Linked DNA regions of Homo sapiens: region 1 is linked to region 2. The links are contacts of gene promoters, found by promoter capture Hi-C in human tissues and cell types (Jung and others, 2019). All regions are on one chromosome and are shown on one strand. The core of a region is centred on a gene start or on the middle of the fragment in contact, and the rest is flanking DNA. Distances in the headings are between cores, read along the strand shown. Region 1 overlaps SMC1B (structural maintenance of chromosomes 1B). Region 2 holds the start of FBLN1 (fibulin 1).

The links. The method cuts DNA at HindIII sites, captures the fragments that hold promoters and counts their contacts. A contact is called where the count stands out against the background at its distance.
Region 1: a contact is called between a fragment that was not itself captured here and the fragment with the promoter of FBLN1 in region 2, in 4 of the 25 tissues and cell types used here (IMR-90 fibroblasts, dorsolateral prefrontal cortex, stomach and 1 more).

The regions. Positions count from the first base shown.
Region 1 is chr22:45,392,689-45,397,505 of GRCh38, forward strand. It overlaps SMC1B (structural maintenance of chromosomes 1B), which reads right to left. Exons shown (of 25, transcript NM_148674.5): 7 at 3,658-3,798; 8 at 1,997-2,079; 9 at 946-1,153. Among named protein-coding and RNA genes, the nearest start is that of SMC1B, 19 kb to the right of the region's middle. The HindIII fragment of the contact is 3,124 bases long and covers 812-3,935 here.
Region 2 is chr22:45,501,017-45,505,716 of GRCh38, forward strand. It overlaps FBLN1 (fibulin 1), which reads left to right and starts at 1,867. Exons shown (of 17, transcript NM_006486.3): 1 at 1,867-2,048. The coding sequence starts at 1,970. RefSeq lists enhancers at 2,481-3,094, 3,095-3,708, 3,709-4,322, 4,323-4,700. The HindIII fragment of the contact is 10,534 bases long and covers 1-4,700 here.

The sequences.
Region 1 (4,817 bases), core at 1,124-3,623, 110 kb before region 2:
AGGCCAATGGTAGATGTTTCCTTTTTTTTGGAGACAGAGTCTCACTCTGTGGCCTAGGCTGGAGTGCAATGGTGTGATCTCAGCTCACTGCAAACTCTGCCTCCCGGGTTCAAGCGATTCTCCTACCTCACCCTCCTGAGGAGCTGGTATTATAGGCGCCTGCCACAATGTGCGGCTACTTTTTGCATTTTTAGTAGAGACAGGGTTTCACCATGTTGGCCAGGCTGGTCTCAAACTCCTGACCTCAGGTGATCCACCAGCCTCAGCCCCCTAGAGTGCTAGGATTATAGACGTGAGACACTGCCCTGGCCGGTAGGTGTTTCAAAACAGAGCAGTGGTTACCAGTCTCAAATGCTGAAAACAGGCCATATCATAAAATAAGGACTGCACAGTATACACTGATGTTAGGGACAAGAGGATCAGATGCCACCCCGATACAAAAGGAAATAATCTTGTGATGCTGGCACCCCAAGCAACAAGTGATACTGTATTTTGGCTAATGAAATACACTAGCAATACCAGATGCACAGTCATACTTACAGAATAAAAATATGCCAATGATGTCTGCTGAAAAAATATTTCAAAAACAAATAAAACCATGAAAAACATGAGGTTTGAGGCTATGTGTCTGGGTGGCTCAGAGTACTTCACAGCATCCAGGTCCTTTTGGGGATACTGGCCACAATTTGAACTTTCTGGGTACTATGTTCATGTCAAGCTTCTCCCCAATAATTACGTTATCTACAGCTACTACTGGAAGTTTTACCCTAATTAGTTACTGTCACATTTTAAATATAAAGAGTCAAACACAAAACTTAAAGATGTCTGAAATAATATTGCTTTGTAATAATGGTAATATTTCTAATCCCAAATGAGAAGATACTGTTGAAAGCAAACAGGAAAGCTTAGTTTTTTTTGTTTAAATTAACTATTCATTCTCATTACCACAGAATCTGGGTACAGTCTTTTAAGGTGTTCCAGAACCTCTGCTCTCTTTTGCTGACGTTTTCCCTCATGGGTATCAATCCCAGCATTCTGCAATTCACTTCTAATAAGATTCAATTCTTCATTAACTTCAGACATTCTTGATTTTGTTTTTTCAATTTCATCCACTAGGGTTTCCTCTTGCTGTTTTTTCTCTTTCAAGCAATCCCTACAAAATAACAACAAATTATACAGCAAAATGATAAACCAAAATTTAGGAATTACCAGGTACAACATACTCCTGTCTGGCATTGCAGGGGAATAGAGCAGTGCTCTATCAATTTTTAAAGGGTAAAAAATGCAATAAACCTGACACCAAACATGGGCAAAAAAGATTTTGCTCATTCTTTGTTGATTTGAAAAATGTGGCTGGGCCAGGTGGCTCACTCCTGTAATCCCAGTACTTTGAGAGGTTGAGTGGGTGGCTGGCTTGAGTCTAGGAATTTGAGACCAGCCTGGCAACATGGCAAAAACCTGTCTCTACAAAATACAAAAAAAAAAAATTAGCCAGGTGTGGTGGCACACACCTGTAGTACCAGCTATTCAGGGGGCTGAGGTAGGTGGATCACTTGAGCCCAGTGGGTGCAGGCTGCAGTAAGCCATGATCACGCAACTGCACTCCAGTCTGGGTGAGAGTGAGACCCTGTCTCAAAAAAAAAGGAAGAAATACATAAATAAGAAAGCTGCAAGGGGTGCGATGGCTCACACCTGTAATCCCAGCACTTTGGGAGTCCGAGGAGGGTGGATTGCTTGGTCCAGGAGTTCAAGATCAGCCTGGGCAACATGGTGAAACCCCATCTTTACCAGAAATAGAAAAAATTAGCTGGGTGTGGTGGCATGTGCCTGTAGTCTCAGCTACAGGCTGAGGTAGGAGCGTCATGTGAGCCCCGGAAGTTGAGGCTACCGTAAGCCATGACTGCGCCACTGCACTCTGGCCTGGGCGATGGGAGTGAGACCCTCTCTCAAAAAATAAAAGAAAATTGCTGCAAGAAATTTTTTTTACTCTACCTACATGCATGTCTTTGTATACTCCTCTAACTTCTCTATTCGTTTTTTATGATCTTCTATTTGTTCTTTTATTTGTTTTAGATTTCCCTAAAAGAGGAAATAAAATCTAAAATCAATTACGGCAATTCCAAACCAACAAAATTACATGCCTAGAACTTACTATAATATTATAAGCTGTTATAAAATTGAAAGATATCAAATATAATTATATGAAAACACTTATCAGAGCAAATTACAGATCAGGGTTCAACTCCTGAATCTTTACCATTTGCTAGATATTTGATCTCTAGCGATTTCTCTCTGTAACTTCAAACTTCAAGGAGATTATTTTCAAATATCTATATAGTTCTTACCCCTTAACTAATGTACTGAACAAATATATTAGGTTGGTACAAAAGTACTGCAATTACTTTTGCAACAATCTAAATATATTCACTGGCTACCATGTGATAGGAACTAGAGGTACAGAAATAAGCAGGAAAGAGTCCCTGCCCTCAAAGAACTAATGTCTGGTAGGAGAGACAGATAATTAAATAAGTAATTATAGTAGAGTGGTTTTGTGTTATAATAATATAGGCACCTGTAGGGCAACTAATAGCCTTGTGGATGAGGATTTCGGGAAAGTTTTGTTCTATTCACTTTATCATTAAATCCAACTGGAGACTACCACAAGTCTTCTCCATCTGTCTGCAACTACATGTGTTCTTCTTGTTTTTTTGTATTCAAAAGACAACAGCAATTCAACCAACACTTATTGACATCTACTAAGTGCAAGGTTTACAATGGACACAATTAGAATCCTGCCTTTAATAAGCTTCCAGTCCAGTAGAGAGGTACCAATTAATTTTAATTTTTATGCGATCTGACAAAAGCCCTTAGATATAGATAAAAAATTGACTGGGCACGGTGGCTCAGGCCTGTAATCCCAGCACTTTGCAAGGCTGAGGAGGATGGATCACCTGAGGTCAGGAGTTCAAGACCAGCCTGACCAACATGGAGAAACCCTGTCTCTACTAAAAATACAAAATTAGCCAAGCATGGTGGCGCATGCCTGTAATCCCAACTACTCAGGAGGCTGAGACAGGAGAATTGCCTGAACCTGGGAGGCGGAGGTTGTAGTGAACCGAGATCGCGTCATTGCACTCTAGTCTGGGCAACAAGACCGAAACTCCGTATCAAATAATAATAGGTAGTTATATGAGGAAGAAATTATTTTTGGCTTTTTTAGGAGCTGGGATATAAAGAAAAGGAGGGCCAGGGAAGGCTTTGCGGTGTTGGTAACTCTAGATTTTAACATGTAAAGATGAATAGGTTATTCCAAAAAGAAACTAGCATGTACAAAGGCAAAAATGTCCAATGTGTATTTTCATAAATCAGTGTATAATTTTATAACATATCAATTACACAATTATACAAATGTTTTAAAAGTAATTCCTGCTATGTTACCACCTTTGTTTTTCTCCTTGCACAAAATGCCTCTTCTACTCACAGAACTATCACAGATTATGGCTATTATATTTGTATCTTCATCTGCCAAATCATGAAATAAATGAAATGAGACAGTATAGTGTAAGGTTAAGGAGATTCATTCTGGAGACAGGTACAAAAAGGAAATAAAATTTCATTAAGAATGATTCTAAATCATTACTGTACAACCCAAGACACCTGAACTTCTCCATGCCTCCTCTTTTCAAATGCCAGTCTTTCTTCATCTGTCTTCTGTTCCCACTGCAGTTTTTCCAGTTGTTGAGTCATTGTAGCTACTTTCTTTCTTACTTGTTCCTTAAGTTCTTTATAACGATCCAGCTGCATAAACAGTATTGAAAAATTGCTAATTCACCTTAAGAAGCATGAGAGCAAATTTCTTTGTATGAAATCCTGTACTAGAAGATAATTAATCTTCCCAAAAGCTTGCTTTATATAAATTAAATCATAATCGACCACCTTCCCCCGGTAAAATAATGTGAGCATGAAAGCTTCCTTTAAAAAAACTGTTTATTATTTATTTATTTATTTATATTTGAAACTTATTTATTTATTTATTTTTATTTTGCCCAGGCTGGAGTACAGTGGCACAATCACGGCTCACTGCAGCTTTGGCCTCCTGGGCTCAAGTGTTTATCTTATTATTCATAAGGTAATCATTTTTTCCTCTCATAAACACTTAAAGATACATGTGGCTTTGAGGAGACATGATCACTTAATTGACAAGAAGGAAACTGATTACTTAAGGTGCTTTAAAATGTTCAGTGATGAATTAATCTCTAACTTATTATACAAGATTTAATTATAATAAATCACTAGATGGCAAAAACATGTAATCGACAAACAACCACATTTTTATCGTTTATCTCTTTTATCAATTTTATGATAATCTTATATCACAAATATACCAAATACCAAAACAATTATGACTATATATACCAAAATAATTATAACTATATAAGTAGAAAAAAATATATCATTTTCTCTGGATTCTCCTTTCTCTTTTAAGATTTTTGGACAGAGACCTTAGTATAGAGGTTTTTGTTGCTCTATTTTAAACAGTCTTTTAGGCCAGGCACAGTGGATCATGCCTGTAATCCCAGCACTTTGGGAAGCCGAGGCAAGAGGATCACTTGAGCCCAGGAGTTTGAGACCAGCCTAGGCAACACAGTGTGACCTCATCTCTACAAAAAATTTAAAAATTAGACAGGTGTGGTAGCATGCGCCTGTAGACGGGAGGATCAATTGAGCCCAGGAGTGACACTGCAGTGAACTATGATTGATAGCAGCAGGAGACAGACAAATCCTAGACAGACAGGGGTGGGTCCCCAGTGAAACCT
Region 2 (4,700 bases), core at 617-3,116:
GAGGACAAGGCGGGTGGATCACCTGATGTCGGGAGTTCAAGACCAGCCTGACCAACACGGAGAAACCCCGTCTCTACTAAAAATACAAAATTTGCCAGGCGTGGTGGTGCATGCCTGTAGTCCCAGCTACTCAGGAGGCTGAGGCAGGAGAATCGCTTGAACCCGGGAGGTGGAGGTTGCAGTGGGCTGAGATTGCGCCACTGCACTCCAGCCTGGGCAACAAAAGCAAAACACCATCTCAAAAAAACAGAAAGAAACAACATGTATTCAGAAAAGGGCACGTACCATAAATGAACAGCTCAATAAATTCTCACAAACTGAGCCCAACCTTGTAACCAATACCCAGAGTAAGAAAGCTGAACCTAACCAGCCCCCGAAAGCCCAGCACGCTCCCACTCCAGGATCACCACTCTCCTGACCTCTGAACTGTTCTTGCCTTTTTTTTTTTTTTTTTTTTTTTTTGAGACGGAGTCTCACTCCGCCGCCCAGGCTGGAGTGCAGTGGTGAGATCTCGGCTCACTGCAACCTCCGTCTCCCGGGTTCAGGCGATTCTCCTGCCTCAGCCTCCCGAGTAGCTGGGACTACAGGTGTGCACCACCATGCCTGGCTAATTTATTTTTATTTTTATTTTTAGTAGAGACAGGGTTTCACCATGTTGGCCAGGCTGGTTTCGAACTCCTGACCTCAGGCAATCCGCCCACTTCATCCTCCCAAAGTGCTGGGATTACAGGTGTGAGCCACCGCCACCGGCCTGTTCTTGCCTTTTATGTAAATGGAATCATGCAGCGAGTGTTCCTTTGTGGCTGACTCTATTACTCTGACTTACGTCTGTGAGATTTACCCGTTATGTGAGTTGCGGATCATTCACTCCTGTTCCGTTTGTCGTGCTCCTAAGCCCGAATACTCCACGATATTCATCTGCCTTGATGACGCTAGGCTTCCCAATTGGAGGAATTATGAATGTGCGGCTACATGTCTTTCTGTCTTTTGGAGCACATGTTGTATGCGTTTCTGCTGAGTGTAAGGCTGGGCGGGGCGTCGGTGGCTCAAGGGGTCCATGGTGAACTCACAGGAACACCGCTTTGAGCTGCCCAGTGGCGTTCCTATGCGTCTCATCCAGTTCCTCCGCATCTTCACCTGCACCATTTTATTCTTCTTCTTTGGAAAATAAATCTACTTGTGGTTCCAAAGCCTAACTCATCCTCAGTAACCCCGGTAGCTATGAATTCCTATACAAGAGGCTCCCGCAGGCCCAGCGCCAAAGCTGCCTCCCCTGCAGCCTCGGTGACTTCCCGGGTCTCTCCCTCCGGCCCTGGTGTCCCGGGTGAGCCCAGCACACGTTGGGATTTTGGTTGTTTGTTGGCCTGGCCCGACTGTCCCTGTCTCTGAGGGCAGAGTCGGGTCCCATCCCGGGACACGCCTGGGGTTAGCCACCGACCTGCAGCCTCCCGGCCGAGGGTGCGGGGTTGGCGGTAAGGCCTGCCCCAGTGCCCCCCAGCAGCCGGGCCTCCGACTGCAGGCCCGGGTCCCCGCTCCTCCGCGCGGAGTCGGGCGGGGATAACCTTTGATCCCGAGCCCTCCCCTCGAGAGGGGGTGGGGGGAGGAGGGGATCGGGTTTCACGGAGTGTTGGGGGATAGGACTGGGGGCATCCGGCCCGAAGGCGCCCCCTCTGTGCCCCCTCCGGGGAAGTCTGGGATCCAGGCCCTCGCCCCCAGCCGTGGGCGCGCGCCCCTCGCAGCCGGGGTCCGGGGAGGGAGGGTCCCGGCAGGGGGCGCCGGGGAGGGAGGACCAGGAGACCCGCGGCCCCGCCTCCGCCGCGCCCTCCTCCCGGGCGGGATAATTGAACGGCGCGGCCCTGGCCCAGCGTTGGCTGCCGAGGCTCGGCCGGAGCGTGGAGCCCGCGCCGCTGCCCCAGGACCGCGCCCGCGCCTTTGTCCGCCGCCGCCCACCGCCCGTCGCCCGCCGCCCATGGAGCGCGCCGCGCCGTCGCGCCGGGTCCCGCTTCCGCTGCTGCTGCTCGGCGGCCTTGCGCTGCTGGCGGCCGGAGGTAGGGGCGTCCCGGGTCCGCCGCCCCAGCTTAGGGTCCCGACCCCCTCGGCCTCGCGCTCCCTGCGAGTTTCGGAACCACGGGGACTCGGAGTCCGTGCGTTGCCCTGCGCGGCGCCCCCGGACTGTCAGCGCCGAGGCCTCGGCGACGCCCCCCTCCCCCACGGCCAGCTCCGGTCCTCATCTCCTCCCCGGCCTGGGGACTTGTTTCAAAACCGGATTCCCCCACCCCTCAAACACACCGTCCTACCCCAGTCCTAGCAAATCCAGCCGGCTCCGGGGGCCGCATCCCGGGCCCTGGGGGTTCAGGGGCGCTAGCTGGGCTGGGGGACGCTGGCTGGGGGTTACCGAGCCCAGGGCGCCTTGCACTTGACGCTGGAAGCGCCCTCGGCTATCTTTCCTCACCGCTTCCCGCCTCCACCCCCAGGTAGGAGCTGTTGTACCCAGCTTGCGGATGTGAAACTTGAGCCTGGAGGGTGGGAAGCAGTCTTTTCCCCAGGAGACACTAGCGGTCCTGGGATAGGGGCTGGAGAGGAAGAAATGAGAAAGCCAGGGAGCAGCCTGGAGGTTTTTGGGGCGTAGCTGGGAGGATGGAGGGGATGCGGACCTGGCCACCTCCTCCCTGCCTCCCTCCCGGGACAGAGGGCCCAAGGCAGTGGTTCTGCCGGGCTCGGTGCTCAGCGGGGACTGGGGACTGGTCACTTCCACCAACGGCAAGGGGGATGGAGTTTTCCAAGAGCAGATCTGATCGATGGCCCAGACCTTAGGCCCCAACTCTGGGACTGACAGCTCCGGGACAGTGCCCACCCAGCCCGCGCTTTTCTCCCCTCTAACCCTCAAGGCCTGGTCCCTGGGGGGACTGCCACGAGGTCCTCTGATCAGAGCAGCTGCTGGGCGGCAGAGCTATGACCTGTGACCTCTCTGCTGACCCGTGGCTTCTCAGAGCCACTAGCCAGGCCCGGCACTCCTGGCGTCTTTGTTTCTCCAGTGGCCCAGGTCCAGGGGAGTGCCCTAGACCACCCTCAGAATCCGAGTCTTAATCCCTGGTTTAGTTGAGTTCCTTTTAACCTCTGGTGACCGCCTTTGTTAGTCAAAAGGTCGCTTGTCCCAACTAATGCTCACTGGGGGATTCCAGGAAGGGGGCTGAAGGGGGCTGGAGGGGGAGGGGAGGCTGGGAGCTGAGCTCTACAGAGCTTTCTTGACTGGCTGGCTGCAGCAGAGCCCTGTGGAGCTCTGATTGTTCAGGCGGTGCTGGGCACGGCCTGGGCACCTCGTGGGGTTGGAGATGGTGTGGGGAGGCGCAGAGCTCAGTGTTGGCACCAGGAGCCTTCGCAGCCCCTGGGGGCTCCCTGGAGGCTCTTTAGAAGAGATGGAGCTTGATGTAAGGGGAGCGCGGGAAGAGGGCATTCCAGCAAGCAGCAGGCCGGGTGGCTGCCAGCTGGAGGGAAAACCCCGAGGGGCCCTGGGTGATGGGTGGGTGGGACATCCGAGACTCCTGTTAGAAAAGGAAGGAGCCTCAGAGGCCCCGATTGTGTCGATGAGGAAGCTGAGGGCCTGAGAGAAGGCGTGGTAAAACTCTCCCTGGCCCCGGAGTCTCTGCGTTCCCTCTCACTGTTCTTTTCTGTCTGCGGTTTGCGAACAATTTCTCCCTATGTGTGTGTGACTGAATGAACACCCCAGGACTTGCGGGCCCAGTGTGGCTCACTGCTGAGCCACAGAGAAGTTTGTAATTGGAAGGGTTTAAAAAAGCCTCCTAATTGCACACTTCGATAAAAGCAGCTGGATGTCCTGTGGGCCTTTTGTTTCTTTTGGGGAGAAGTCTCTTTGAGTTTCAACAGGTTTAATTTGGTACAGTTTGGGAAGGGGCTTTTGAAGACTGCCTGGCCCCTATCTGCAGCTGTGAGGCCCCCGAAGCCCTGTATGTAAGGCCACAAGTGGCACCGCCCCTGCTCTCAGAGAGCTGTGGGGCCGCAGATGGTGAGCCTGTTAGCTGATCTGCAGAAACTCCTTTGGCGACGGCCGCTTAAATGGAGAAGGGCGCTGATCTTTCTTGCCAAACGGCCGAGAGGAGCCGCCTGTCTGTCCTGTGTCTGTCCGTCCCGTTGGGCTTTACTGAGAGCTGGGTGGGAGGGAGTGGAGAGGAGGAGGTGTTAGGAAAAGACGATTGTGTTTTCTCCAAGGCTTTCTTGGCCTCTGGCTGCAGCCGGGCAGCGTTTCCGACTGATTAAAAGAAAGTTGGGAGGGAGAACAAAGGCCAGGGAGGACTTGGCTTGAAAACGTGTGGTCTGTGCCGCCACTCCTGGAAGTTTCCCAGTCAGGAGGTGGGGGCCAGGGCACTGAATGCATGAAGATGAGACTCTGTGCCATGGGGGTCAGGGCTGGGGCCTCTCCTGCAGCACCCACAGCTCTGGCTCACGCCCCGCTCCTGGCCCTGCTGAGTGCCCCCCAACTCAGGGCTGCATTTGCCACCCCTGTTAGGTGTGTAGGGCAGGAGTAGGGGCACGCGGCTGACTCATCTTCAGGTCCTGGAGGGCTCCACGGGCCTTGTGAGACTAGAAATCAGTTTGCATCAGAAAAAGCCATGAGATGGTTTGGTGGTTTTCTCATTTATAAAATGAAGGGAACAAAAACCTACTTAGGTTGTCTTGAGGAT